Linked DNA regions of Homo sapiens: region 1 is linked to region 2. The links are contacts of gene promoters, found by promoter capture Hi-C in human tissues and cell types (Jung and others, 2019). All regions are on one chromosome and are shown on one strand. The core of a region is centred on a gene start or on the middle of the fragment in contact, and the rest is flanking DNA. Distances in the headings are between cores, read along the strand shown. Region 1 overlaps LOC105374739 (a long non-coding RNA gene). Region 2 holds the start of C7 (complement C7).

Evidence for each region. The method cuts DNA at HindIII sites, captures the fragments that hold promoters and counts their contacts. A contact is called where the count stands out against the background at its distance.
Region 1: a contact is called between a fragment that was not itself captured here and the fragment with the promoter of C7 in region 2, in 2 of the 25 tissues and cell types used here (H1 embryonic stem cells and IMR-90 fibroblasts).

What each region holds. Positions count from the first base shown.
Region 1 is chr5:41,083,685-41,090,953 of GRCh38, forward strand. The region is part of intron 3 of LOC105374739 (a long non-coding RNA gene); the gene reads left to right. Among named protein-coding and RNA genes, the nearest start is that of MROH2B, 16 kb to the left of the region's middle. The HindIII fragment of the contact is 3,271 bases long and covers 408-3,678 here.
Region 2 is chr5:40,906,097-40,913,569 of GRCh38, forward strand. C7 (complement C7) reads left to right here and starts at 3,401. Exons shown (of 18, transcript NM_000587.4): 1 at 3,401-3,520. The coding sequence starts at 3,515. It also overlaps the pseudogene RNU7-161P. The HindIII fragment of the contact is 9,186 bases long and covers 164-7,473 here.

The DNA.
Region 1 (7,269 bases), core at 793-3,292, 180 kb after region 2:
TTGAGACCAAGCGCGGGGTGGGGTGGGGGGCGGGGGTTGGGGAGATTACTTGAGTCCAGGAGAGAAGCTGCAGTGAGCTGTGATTGCATCACTGCACTTCAGCCAGGGAGACAGAGCGAGACCCTGTCTCAAAAGAAAAAAAAAAAATTAATCCCTCTAGAATTTGCAAATGATTTAAAAAATGATTTCACTCTCAAGTGATAGAAAATTAAATTCCCTGTGGATAAGTAATTTACTAGTATGGTATTTCTCAGAGCCTCTTTTATTAGGCATATCTAGCTTTGCTACTGACAGTTGCTGAGAAAAGAACAGCCTATCTTTATAATTTGGGGTAGTGAGAGAAATAACAGAGCCCTTTACCTCTGAGGACGTTACCTGGTGGCTTGGCGTCATGATAATTGGGGCCTTCTGCTTTTTGGAGCTCATTATACCTTGGCCAGAACTTTTAGGACTAGATTTTAAGTGTCAGCTCCTGGACCTGTAAGTCATGTTAGTGAGAAATGAGACATGAGACATCGTGTTTTTTTTTTTGTTTTTTTTTTTAACTGAAGAACTCACTTTTTATGGCAGCTAAACAATTCAAAGGAGGATACTTTCATTATCTCAACTTCTTATAATGAATGACTTGGATCTCATAATTGCCCAGGTAAATAATCTTAGAAGAAAAAGTTATTAGTATTATATTTTTAAGGATTAAAATACAATTTCATTGCCTCTGAATGATTCTCTTACATTTTGAATTTTTTTTCCTTTTTTAAAAAAGAAATAAACATGTTCCCATTGTCTTTTGTTTACTTTTATAGGATTAAAAACATACTTTTGATTCCTGCTTTTGGTAGTTTCAATGGCCTCTAGATGTGCCATAAAAATGTGAATATTCTCATGTTACAGTTAGAGACTTTAGAATCCTAGAAATGGTCATTAAGTTTTATAGAAATACTTTGTTAGGTGAAACTGTTCAAAAACATTTAAATCAAAAAGTGATAGTAAAATATTAGATACAGTTTCAAATAGTAAATTTTCTGGTTACCAATAGTGTTCAAATATCATAGGAATATTTGCTGGAAAAGAAGCAAATAAAAAATAAAGTAGATCTAAAACAAAACATAACTTTCATTGCTGGTGCTAGTATTCATATATGTAACTCTTCATCTGCTTCTGTAGTGCACAGAAATGAGTACAGAAGCTTAGAAAGATAAACCTGGCACTCATTTCCATAGTTTGTACTTACTAAAAGAGGAAGTAGATATATATCCATTAATATTAGAGATTTTTTTACCAGTAAGATTATTTAATCCATCTGAGCCTTAGTTACATCATCTGTAAGATTGTTAGTTGTATAGATTAAGTGAATAATGCAAAGAAAATATGTTGTACCAAGTTAGCATTATTTGTTATCTGGCATTTTTGCTGTTATTGCTCTTGTTGACATAATTATACCAAAACAGCCTAATGAGACCACATCATTCCAGCAACTTTCTGCTCATTGAGGTCTTAATATTATGATTTCTGCTTTTAAGAAAATGCTTGTAAGCTTTGTAAAATGTTGGAACCAAACAATCTTAACATAGGGCTAATTTTAAGAGAAAGTGTTATGTATGTAATGTGTAGTTTTTGTTCTAGCTGAGTTTTAAGGTTCTTTTTATCACTTATTTTAAGCAATTTGGTTATGTTGCAGCTTGGTGTACTTTTCTTCATGTTTCTTTTGTTTGAAGTTTAGTAAGTTGCTTGAATATGTTAATTTATAATTTTTATCAAATTTGGAAATATTTTAGCCAGTATGTTTCCAATTTTATTTTTATCTCCTCTTCTTTCTTCTGCTTCACTTCATCAGGGACTCCAGTGATACGTATAGTAGGCCACTTGAAGTTGACTTATAACTCGCTGATGCTCTGTTAATTTTTCATCCTTTTGTATTTTATTTTGGATATTTTCTATTGCTTTGTCTCCAATATTTCTTTCAGCATTGTCTAAACTGATGTACCACCTGGTGTATTTTTTGTTTTTCTGTCCTCAGATGGAGTCTCACTCTGTTGCCCAGGCTGGGGTGCGGGGGTGCCATCTCATCTCACTGCAGCCTACACCTCCTGGGTTCAAGCGATTCTCCTGCCTCAGCCTCCCCAGTAGCTGGGATTACAGGCGCCCACCACCATGCCTGGCTAATTTTTATATTTTTAGTAGCGGCGGGGTTTCACCATGTTGGCCAGACTGGTCTCAAACTCCTGACATCAAGTGATCCATCTGTCTTGGCCTCCCAAAGTGCTGGGATTACAGGTGTGAGCCATTGTGACTGGCCTGTATTTTTTATTTCACACAATTGTTTTCATTTCTAGAAGTTTTATTTGGAGACCTTATATATACCTTTTGTGTCTCTATCTAATTGGATCAATTTTTCCTCTAGCTTCTTTAGTATCTGTAATAGAGTTATAAAGACTGTTTTAATGTTCTTGTCTATTAATTCTATCATCTGTGTCATTTCTTAATATGCTTCCATTTGTTTTTTCTTATTATTGTTGATTGTATTTTCTGCTTTTTTGAATGCTTTCCCTCCATTAGATAGTAGATATTGTGAATTTTATTTTGTTGGGTGTTAGATACTCTTGAGCTTTGTTCTGTGATTCACTTGTTATTTTGAAACAATTTGATCCTTTCGAAGCTTGCTTGTAAGTTTTGTAAAATGTAGGGACCAGACAATCTTAATATAAGGCTAATTTGGTATATTCTTTTGAGTATATCTGATGTCCCATGAAATATAAAGCTTTCCACTCTGGCTGGTTGAAAATATGAGTTATTCCTAAACCTGTGTGAACTTTGGAGATTATTGATTCTTTTCTTTTTGCATGGTTTGTTTCCCAGCTTCAGTTTTCCTTATATGCATATCCTAGTAGGTACTCAACTGAATTCTAGAGGGGAACACTCTGGAGATCTTCAGAGTTTTCTCTGTATGCACCTCTCTCCTGTCCAGTATTCTTCCACTTAAACTGTATCCACTTTGCCATTCCCAGACTCCCAGCTCCATCTCTCCAACTCAAGGATACCTCCAGCCTCCTTCTGGTTTCTCTTTCCTGTGCTGAAACTTAGAAACTTTCTCCAGAAAGTAAGCTTGGGCAATCATTGGGGCTAACCTCATAGTTTTTCCCTCTCTCAGAGATCAATTCCTGCATCAATGGTGTCCAGTGTCTGAAAGCTGATATTTCTTAGACTATAAGAATCTGGGTTGCTTTTTTTTTTCAGTTGTTTCAGTGGAAGGGTAAATTCAGTTCCTGTTACTTTATCTTTGTCAGCATCAGAAGTCTGCCAAGATTCTTATATGTATTTATGCTGTTCTAGTCTTATGAACTTCTGCTACCTATTTTGCTCCCAGGAATAGTAGCGTATAAGTTGGGAATATGTTTCCCTTCCCCTCCCACCAAAACCCCAAATAATGAACCCCCAAACAAAAAACAAACTCAGAAAGCACTCAACAGTTGCCTAAATCTATAATGTTTTTGTTTTCTTGTACAAAGCTCACCTGGAGACAGGTAGCCTGGGCTAAAACAGCTCTTCAGTAATGTATTATGGATCTATGCTCTTTTTCTTTTTTACTATCTTTAGCATGTTATTTGACCTTTAGTTACAAGATAACTGCTACATATCCAGAGCTCATGTTTGCATTCCAGGCAGGAAGAAGGTAAAATACAAAACTTTCTTCATGTGGGAGTTTACATTTTCAATTTGGAAAGAGAAGACATTCACAGTGAATTTCATTCACATATTGTTGGTAAGAACTTGGTCACATAGCCACTCTTCACTGCAGTGTAGGTTGGGAAACCATGTATTTTAGTAGTTTCAATGCTTCTCAAAAGAGGAAGGTAAGGAAGAAAAGGACTGTGAATATCTTTCAAATAGAGCATCTATGGTATCTATTAGAATAATAATTCTGTCATGTTCCCAACGTTTAAGGATACGTAAGATTGCCACAAGCCTAAATCTGGAACTATGACTAAAGATCTGTGGGAGCCAGAAGTAGCCACTTACTTCCCATGTTTGATAACATTTTTCTTCTGTTAGTCAGTCTTCCATATGTAAATCATGAACAGTGAATGAGAGTAGAGGCAGGATGATAAAATTAGTTTGGGTTATAAAAGATAAATTCAAATAGAGACTATACTTTATATTATTGTCCTAATTTATTAGTTTTACTCCATGTTGAATTATCATTTTATTTAATTCAGAAGCTCTCAAAGGTATTCATTTTTTCAACTCTTATTTAAGCTTTTGGGCTTCTTGATCAAAGATGTACAGATGCATATATTCATGTATACCTGCGAGTATGTGCATGCATACACACACACAATAACTTTGATGCTGTTTTGATAATAAAATTTTTGGTAACACATTTTCTTTGTTTAAAAAATCCTAGTGTAATGATATACAAGGAGAACCACACATAGGCTAGCTGATGAAACATATGTTTTAGTGTGAGAAGCAAGATATCAAGGGATAGGCTCTAAGCATAATTATTAATGATAATCTTTAATGTGCTCTTTCCAGGCTGGGGCTGGTTAGTAACAAGACTTTTGTTTTTCTTTTTGAGGATTATAAGTGTGAGGTGAGAGCGGAATTATTTGGGAAAATATAGGAGTTTGGAAAAAAATGCAGTGAAATGAGAAAGTTCGATGGTTGCTGGTTGAGGACTTTGGGAGACAAATGTCTAACTGAGATTGGACTTTATTTTTAAAATATGAAAATTATCAGACATATATAAAATAGAGATAATTGTATAATGAATGATTGTATATGTTTACATCCTAGTTTTAATAATTATCAAGTTATTGCTCATCACGTTTTATTTCTATCCCTATTTACTTCATTCGTGTATTATTTTGAAGCAAATACCAGATATTATATAATTCATTCCTAAATATTGTACATTTTTTTTCCTAAAAGGTAAGGGTTCAAAAGAGTATGCCAAGAAAAAATAAGACCTAGTCAGAGCTCAATTTTCTCATAGTATCATTATATTTAGAGTTTGTTTAAATAAGATCAAGTTATGACTCATCTATTGCAATTAGTTGATATGTCTCCTTTTTTTTTTTTTTTTTTTTGAGATGGAGTCTCGCTCTGTTGCCCAGGCTGGAGTGCAGTGGCGTGATCTCAGCTCACTGCAAGCTCTGCCTCCTGGGTTCACACCATTCTCCTGCCTCAGCCTCCCGAGTAGCTGAGACTACAGGTGCCCACCACCACGCCTGGCTAATTTTTTGTATTTTTTAGTAGAGACGGGGTTTCACCGTGTTAGCCAGGATGGTCTTGATCTCCTGACCTCGTGATCCACCCACCTCGGCCTCCCAAAGTGCTGGGATTACAGGCGTGAGCCACTGCACCTGGCCAATATGTCTCTTAAATCTCTTTAAATATATATATTTTAATTGGGACTTTATTAATTTGATTTCTATGTAAAGAGTGAAAAAATTTCTCCCTCATTGTCAAATTGAATCATCAATACAATCTAAATAATTTAGTTGTGCTATTTGGAACATATTAGTTTTTGATGCAATGAAATAATCATAGTATGAGAAAAAAAGCAGTATCAAGGAAAAGAAAAAAGTAAGTTTAAAGACATCAATACTGTACAATTCAGCTATAAACACTTATAAAGACAAATTGATACAATCTAAGAAGGAATTCCTTAAAAAGCACGCATGGATGTAAGTCTGTATACCTTATTTGCATTATAAATTGGCAAAGTATCTCATTGTACAGTTATGGTATTTAGACAGATTTGTGGTTGTAAAGTTGGCACTTAAATATTTATCTTGTCTGTCAAGAAATATCACTTAAAATTTATTAAATAAGTACTATGCACTTTTAAATGTATACAGTTTTATTTAGGTATTGAATTAGCAATTCTCACAGGGGCCATTTTGTTTCAATTTGTGCTGACTTCATTGTTGGATATAACTTTCTCCACTGCAGGAATATCACCAGGCTAATTACTAGGAAATCTCTCTCTTTTTTTTTTGGTATATGGAGTAATATGTATGGATGAAAGGACCTTAAAATTGGAGGATTTTTCAATCTAAAATTAGATGCTCATACAAGAGAACCTCTTTCCTACTATAGACTCCCTTCTCCTTCCCCTAATCCCCATCCTGTTCTTAGCAGATGGTGACTGGGCTTATGCTAAAAACTTCCAGGGACAGAGACTTTGCTACTTGTACACAGGAAGACTATTCCATTTTGACGCAACTCAAATTACTAGAAAGTTCAACCTTATGAGACAATTTCTTTAATTTTGAAAATCATATCTTTGGCCATACTTCTGTTCTTTGTAGTAGGAAAAATTTATGTTCTCTCTTCTGTATAGTGGTATTTAAAATATTTAAAAAGATTTTCAGAAATGCTCTACACCTCAAAGATTTTTTATTTTCTAGGGAAAAAGTTTCTAAATGATCTCTTAATAGTTCCTTTAATAATTTGATTTCCAACTCTCTTACTGTCTTTCTCACTTTCTCTGAATGATTGATAGTGTTTAGAGGCCCCTCTATGTTATCAATAACTGATCAGAATATTTCATACTGATACGAACATCAAATTTCTCTTAGTTTAGCCTAAGATGTAAGGTTTTAAACTTTGCAGTTCAATTGCATTGTGTTTCTATGCTCAAATTAACTCATAGATTTTTTTACTTGAACTGCCAAAATATAAGACCCTCCTTAATTTATATTTGAGTGAAAGAGATTTTAAATCCAATTAAAATCAACCCATCAAAAAGTGGGTGAAGGATATGAACAGACACTTCTCAAAAGAAGACATTTATGTGGCCTACAAACATATGAAAAAAAGCTCATCATCACTGGTCATTAGAAAAATGCAAATCAAAACCACAATGGGATGCCATATCATGCCAGTCAGAATGGCGATCATTAAAAAGTCAGGAAACAACAGTTGTTGGAAAGGATGTGGAGAAATAGGAACTCTTTTACACTGTTGGTGGGAGTGTAAGTTAGTTCAACCATTGTGGAAGACAGTGTGGCAATTCCTCAAGGTTCTAGAACCAGAAATACCATTTAACCCAGCAATCCCATTACTGGGTATATACCCAAAGGATTATAAATCATTCTACTATAAAGACACATGCACACATATGTTTATTGCGGCACTATTCACAGTAGCGAAGACTTGGAACCAACCCAAATGTCCATCAGCGATAGACTGGATAAAGAAAATGTGGCACATATACACCATGGAATACCATGCAGCCATAAAAAAGGATGAGTTTATGTCCTT
Region 2 (7,473 bases), core at 2,151-4,650:
TCCCAGGTTCAAGTGATTCTCCTACCTCAGCCTCCCAAGTAGCTGGAATTACAGTTGTCCACCATGTTGTCCAGGGGTTGTCACCATGTTGGCCAGGCTGGTCTTGAAATCCTGACCTCTCCAGTGATTCACCTGCCTCGGCCTCCCAAAGTGCTGGGATTACAGGTGTGAGCCATCGTGCCCAGCCCCTTCTTTTTTTGTTGTTTCTGTTTTTGTTTTTGTTTTTGAAACAAGGCATTGCTCTGTCACCCAGGCTGGAGTGCAGTGACCTGCTCATAACTCACTGCAGCCTCAACCTTCTGGGCCACCTCAGCTTTCTGAGTAGTTGAGACTACAGGCATGTGCCATCATGCCCAGCTAATTTTTGTGTTTTTTGTAGAGACAGCTGTGTCAATCCCTTTTTAAATGAGGCCTTGATCCCCTTGTCTAAACTACTGAAATAAATTCCAAGTCACGCTTCCTGCTTCCTTTCCTTACCTATTCTATGTAGGCTGCACACAGCTACTGTTTCAATCAATCTAAAACACTGCTTTGATTCTTTCTTAAAAACTTCCAGTGGGTGAATTCTCAGTGACTCATTGTGTGAATAAAGTCCATACAACTTATGCTAGCAGTAAAACTTCCCACAGTGTTGCTCCCACCTGCATTTAAAGCCTTTGTGCTAATGGTTCCTCCATTAAAATTGCAGACAGAAGAAATGCTCTTGTGATGTTACAGATATGAAGGTAGGAGTGTGCAAGGCAATTGGGGAAAGGAAGTTTCTGTAACCCTTTCAGAATTGAATGATCTATGGGATACCTGAGCTGAACAATTCAAGTTCTAAATTACTATAAATATATCCAAATCATCCTCTAGATTAAGGATATTCTGTAAATGGGCTAATACGGTCCTTTATAGCATGTAAAGAACAAAAATAAGGAAGGATATAGCTTAAGGCTTCTACCTGTCAAAGCTGATAGCCTATCATATTACACATTTTAGAAAATATTGATCAAATTCAGGATGAAAAAATTAATACATGCATGTATATATAAATAAAAAGCTACTGTAGCAGATGCTGTTGGTACCCTACCCATATTCCTTCATCGCTCGCCTCTAAATGACAAAGGTAAACACCTGCAAATATTGCAAATGCTACAATTCCCTGCTTGAAAACCTTTACTTATGGCTGCAGGCGTGTGCTTAGCTTGCCCCCAGGGCAAGCTGGTAGTGCCAGAGAGCCAATGGGTTCAGAAGCTACCTTCATCATCAGCGATGGGTTTCCTTACCCCTTAATTGGACTAACTCTTTTTTTTTTTTTTTTTTTGGGGGACAGGCTCTCGCTCTGTCACCCAGGCTGCTCTTCAGCAGTGCAGTCTCTTCAGTGGTGCAATCTCACTTCACTGCTGCCTCTGCCTCCTGGGTTCCGGTGATTCTCGTGCCTCAGCCTCCTGAGTAGTTGGGATTACAGGCATGAACCACCATAACTGGCTTTTTTTTTTTTTTGTATTTTTAGTAGAGATGGGGCTTCACCATCATGGCTAGGCTGGTCTTGAACTCCTGACCTCAAGTGATCCACCCACCTCAGCCTCCCAAAGTGCTGGGATCACAGGTGTGAACCACCACACCTGGCTGGACTAACTCTTAATTGCAGAGTTCGTGTGCAATGTCTTTCAGAGTTCCTCATTAGAACTGAACTCAAATTGCCCACTGGAGTCTCTTGCTTGATAAAACACCCTTTATTGACTTTCTTTTCTCCCCAATCTCACTTTCCCACTTCCAGTGGTGCTTTCTAAGATTATCTCTTAAAACAAAAACAAAAACAAACTACTTGCAATTGAATTCTTGTTTCTGAATCTACTTCTGGGGGAACCCAAACTAAGAGAGCCGCTGAAATGGAATTGTATATTGAGAATTTAAGATGAGTCTATGGCATCTGGAATTTATGCAGTTGGAGCTGAATAAAAAATATTTCTTTCAGGAGTCAGGATCTTTGTCTCTGTGACAAAATTTCTTCCACACAAATCACTAAAGCTTTGAACAAAAGATGCGGAAGCTTTGTCTCTGGAAACCACCATTAATTTATGAGGGGAGGATAGGGGTTGTCTTTATTATTCCAGTGCTTTGGATATAGGAAGAAAAAGTCATTAAAGCTAGAAAATCTTCACTAATGGAATGTTTACTTATAAAATTATTCTTAACTCAAATTTTCTTTCCCGCTTAACATTTATTCTACCTCACTCATAATGCACTAGCAGCTAGTGTTAGAATATTTGGTCCAACAATACAAATAAAACTGTAGCTCAATTTTTTTTTTTTTTTTTTTTTTGAGATGGAATCTCACTCTGTCTCCCAGGCTGGAGTGCAGTGGTGCGATCTCAGCTCACTGCAACCTCCGCCTCCTGGGTTCAAGTGATTCTTCTCTCTCAGCCTCCTGAGTAGCTGGGACTACAAGTGCATGCTACCATGCCTGGCTAATTTTTTTGTGTTTTTAGTAGAGACGGGGTTTCACTGTATTGTCCAGGCTGGTCTCGAACTCCTGACCTCTTGGTCCGCTCGCCTTGGCCTCCCAAAGTGCTGGGATTACAGGCATGAGCCACCGCGCCTGGCCAACTGTAGCTCAGTTTCAATAGGAAATCTAAAATCTTGCAAAATAAGCAGCATTTTATTAAATGTATGAAGGTGATGTTGGGGACTTGCTAGAATCAATGCAAAGCTATGGGAAAATAAAGACCTGGTAGAATAAGACAAGATAAAAAGCAAAGGAGAGAAAATGGATGTGGATAATGACCCTGAGAAGAACTTTCCAACACAGTGATCTGATTATCAAAGGATTAAGTGAAGTTCTTGAGAAAATTAGTGATGTCCTCAAATATGTTTACAAAAATTGATATTCTTTCTGATTATTCTGTGAAAGTTAAGCATGAAGGGATGACTATTGGGTTGTATTAGGCTGTACTTTGGGGAAAAATTCTACTCCAGAACATTCTATTTAGATTTTGAGTGACAGAACTGCATTTAAATATTTTCTTTCATAAAATATTTAATCTCAAAGTCTGGCATATAACACCTTTTAAGAGAATCATGAAAACATCCACTTAGTTTAGTAGATTGAAACAAGAAGGAGGCTCATCCCTTGCCTTACAGAGTCTCCTTTGGTTGAAAATCACTTAAACATTGAACTGAGAACATTTGCTGTGTTTCCTGATTTATAGATATGTTTCTAAGAAACATATCTATAACTTCCAAACAGTCCCAGCTGGCTGTAGCTAAGGCTGTGTAATTGATAAGATGCATCTGGTTTCAAGGCACAGATTAAGTACAAGGTCAGGCTCTTGCTGTCGTTGGAGAATCCGGTTGGGGTAGGAGCTAAATCTCAGGACCACTTGCTCTATATATGAGTGCCAAGATAATCTAGAGCAGGGAGAGGCAGAGAGGCAGGCAGCCTGCTGGGCTCTTCCTGCTGTTGAAAACTTACCCGGCCCTTACAGAGGAAATCTTCCTCCTCTCTTCTGCCCTGAATGTTTTCCCAAACATGAAGGTAAGACAATAAATTCATTACTTTTGTAAATGAAGCTATCTTTTCAAATGAACGGGGGTAATATAAATGTAATTTAAACGAAGAGGTGTAATACCTAACTGAAAGACATCAAATAAATAGAAGGCCAGAGGAAAATACAGAAGAAAAAGACCTGGGGGTGATGTTTAGAAATCCTTATTTAAACATATTTAACAGTTCAGCCAAAGTGAATTCCTTTTTCTTATCTTGTGGTGAAATTATAGGTCCAGAGGTCTGGGAATCAGGAATTGGAGACAATGTTTATGAAAGTCCCGATAAAGTCATAAAGAAATACAATAGTACTATTGTTATTTCTTGGGAAAAACTTTCCTCTGGTGTATTTTTTTTTTTTTTTTTTGCTTGTTTGGATTAGGAGCCATGCAGTAGGGTCCTGCGATTTATCTAAGAGCTAATAGAAAAGCAAATTTGCAGGCTTGGAACTTGAGAATTTGAAATCCTGGATGAAAGAGTCAGCATTGTGAGAATAGAAGATATGAGTAGATGGAATAAAACTAAAGGTCTACCAAGTATACATGTTGGCCCAATGCAAAAAGGCCAAATATTAAAAAACAAAACAAAACACAACCAAAAAGCTATTCAACAAAAGATAAGACCAAAGATAGAAATCGCTATCATAGACTAAATCTCTGGAATGCAAAAATAAGTTGAGATTGCTATTCAAATTTTATTATTGTAAATTTTGGTATTTAAACTTTAAAAATGTTGCATTGTAAGACTGTAGGAATAATTTCACAGATCTGTCAGTGGCTAGATTGCTTCCATAGTCACTGTATTGTCCATTGGGGCACCGAATCCAAGCTCGCTCATTATTGGGGTTAGAGGAGGAGCAAGATATGGATCTTGATTAAGCCATGCCTTCTGTGAAATTAAATAATTAAAATTAAACACAAATAACAAAGTTAATTTGTTTAAAGTTATGATGGGCAGTCATAAAAAAGAATGAAATCATGTCCTTTGCAGCAACATGGAGGCAGATAGAGGTCATTATCCTAAGAAAATTAACGCAGGAACAGACAATCAAATACCCCATGTTCTTAATTTTTAAGTGGGAGCTAAATATTGGGTACTCATGGGCATAAAGATGGCAACACTAGACACTGCACTCCAGCCTGGGCAATAAGGTGAGACTCTCTCTCAAAAAAAAAAAAAACAAAAAAAAAACAAGAAAAGAAAATGATGCTCTTCTGAAAGTTATCTAGCCAAAATGTTTTTTCCTAATATTTGTGTTAACTATTAATCTTTTACTTTATTTTACAATAAGAAATCTTAATAATTGCTTTGTGCTTAAAAACATGTTTACAATCATTATTATAATATTTTACTGCTGTAATAATAAATATACTTCTATCCTTTAATTAGTTGACAAAATATCAACAAATAAAGCAATTAATTTTTTAAAAATTTTACATATAGGGGCTTTCCAGCAAAAATTGGGAAGCCTGATAGACAAGTTCTAAAACAACTGTAACACTAAAGCAATTATTTCACTCCAAGTCGCATGTAGAGTTCTTACCTGTATTTGAAAGTGGACATTCATATTTTTACAGTAAACCTGAAGGACATGCTTTGGTGATATGTGACAAAGAAGGGACACTTGTGAAAGCCTTGGGCTATCAAGAAGCTAGAAATGGTTTCTATGTCAGACTTTTTAAGAGGAAGCAATGTTTTGGCCCCACAGCCCCCACGTGAACTAAATTCAGAGAGACAGTCACAGGATTCCCTTTGGTTCTCTCTGTGTTCTTGGATAGGAAATAACTTGGATCTGAGGTGTTGGAGAAGGATGTCAGGGACAAGGGACTTCCCTCGGAGCTGGCTGTGGCCCAGCCATTTGTTCCGTCCCTCCAGGAGAGAGCTGAGCTTGGGGCCTGTGAATCTAGGGAATGGTCGTCACAGTGCCCAAGCACAGTGATGGTCAAGCACAGTAATGTCTCAAATCAGGATTGTAGCTGGGACATACTGGAAGAAGGAGGTAGAGCTAATGCTCATTCATTGATGATAAAGAGGAGAAGATAATTCAGGGGAATGTAGTTCCAGCTTAGCTACATTGACACAGAACAAAAATACCACACACTTTTTCTTTCTTTCTTTTTTTTTTTTTTTTGAGACAAAGTCTCACTCTGTTGCCCAGGCTGGAGTGCAGAGGTACGATCTCTGCTCACTCCAACTTCCGCCTCCTGGGTTCAAGCGATTCTTCTGCCTCAGCCTCCTGAGTAGCTGGGGCTACAGGCGTGCGCCACCATGCCTTGCTAATTTTTGTATTTTTTTTTTTTTTTTAGTAAAGATGGGGTTTCACCATATTGGCCAGGCTGGTCTTGAACTCCTGACCTCATGATCCACCTGCCTTGGCCTCCCAAAGTGCTGGGATTACAGGCATGAACCACCACGCCCGGCCCCACATACTTCTTCAACCAAGCAATTCTTTTATAGAGTCAGTTCAGATGTATGTCTATCACTGTCATTCACATGATTTATTTGTGTTTGTTCTATCTCTCTTGTTCATTTATAAGGTATTTTTTCCAAAGGTAATTATCCTAAGGCTAGCCAAATTTCAAGAAATGCTTTTGGTTAGTAGATTCACTTTGTATAACATGAACAGAACTGGTCTTGTAATAAGCAGACCTTGATGGGTTATAATGAGTATGTATATGAAGAAGGTGATGACAAAGGCATCCATGATGATAAAAAGTATATTTCCTAAAATTTCATTGAAATTCTTTATTTTAAAAAATGCTTTTAAATTTGAGACAAGATCTTGCTCTGTTGCCCTGGCTGGAGTGTAGTGGTACAATTATGGCTCACTGCAGCTGCTACATCCTGGGCTCAAGTGATCCTCCCACCTTAGTCTTCTGAGTAGCTGGGACTACAGGTGCCCGCCACCATGCCTGGCTAATTTTTGTATTTTTTGTTGCAACAGGCTGGCCTCAAATTCCTGGGCTCAAGTGATCCTACCACTTTGTCCTCCCCAAATGCCAGGATTACAGGCATGAGCCACCAAACCTGGCTGAAATTATTTTAAAACACCTGTGACAGAATGTTAGAAATAATTATTTTCATTATCCACATTTTGGCTGAGAGTCAAAGGCCAAGAACAAGTACTCAAGATTTTTTGAAATTTTATGGTTTTTTTTGGAAATTTTATTCATTTAGTTATTTTATTTGTATACATTTAAGGGGTACAAGTGCAATTTTGTTACATGGATATATTGGGTAGTGTTGAAGTCTGGGCTTTCAGTGTATCTATCTTCCAAATAATGTACATTGTACCCATTAAGTAATTTCTCATCACTCTTCCCCTTTCTATCCCCAACTCTTCTGAGTCTCCAATGTCTATTATTCCATACTTTTTGTCCATGTGTACACATTATTTAGCTCCTACTTGTAAGTGAGAATATGAGGTACTTGATTTTATGTTTCTAAGTTGTTTCACTTAATATAATGGCCTCTAGTTCCATCCATGCTGCTGCAAAAGACATGGTTTCATTCTTTTTTAAAAAATTGAACAGTATTTCATTGTGTATATACTGCATTTTCTTTATCCAATCATCTGTTGTTGGACACTTAGGTTGCTTCTATATCTTTGCTATTGTGAATAGTGTTGAGATAAACATACGAGTACGGGTATCTTTCTGATATAATGATTTCTTTTCCTTTGGGTAGATACCCAGTAGTGGGATTGATGGATCCGATGGTAGTTCAATTTTTAGTTCTTTGAGAAATCTCCATACTGTTTTTTATGGAAGTTGTACTAATTTACATTCCCACCAATAGTATATATTGGTGGGAATATATACTATTCCCTATTCTCACTTATCTCTGCATTCCTACCAACAACTGTTATTTTTTGACATTTTTAAAGAGAGATGGTGTCTTGCTCTGTTATCCAGGCTGGAGAGTAATGGTGCAATCATAGCTCA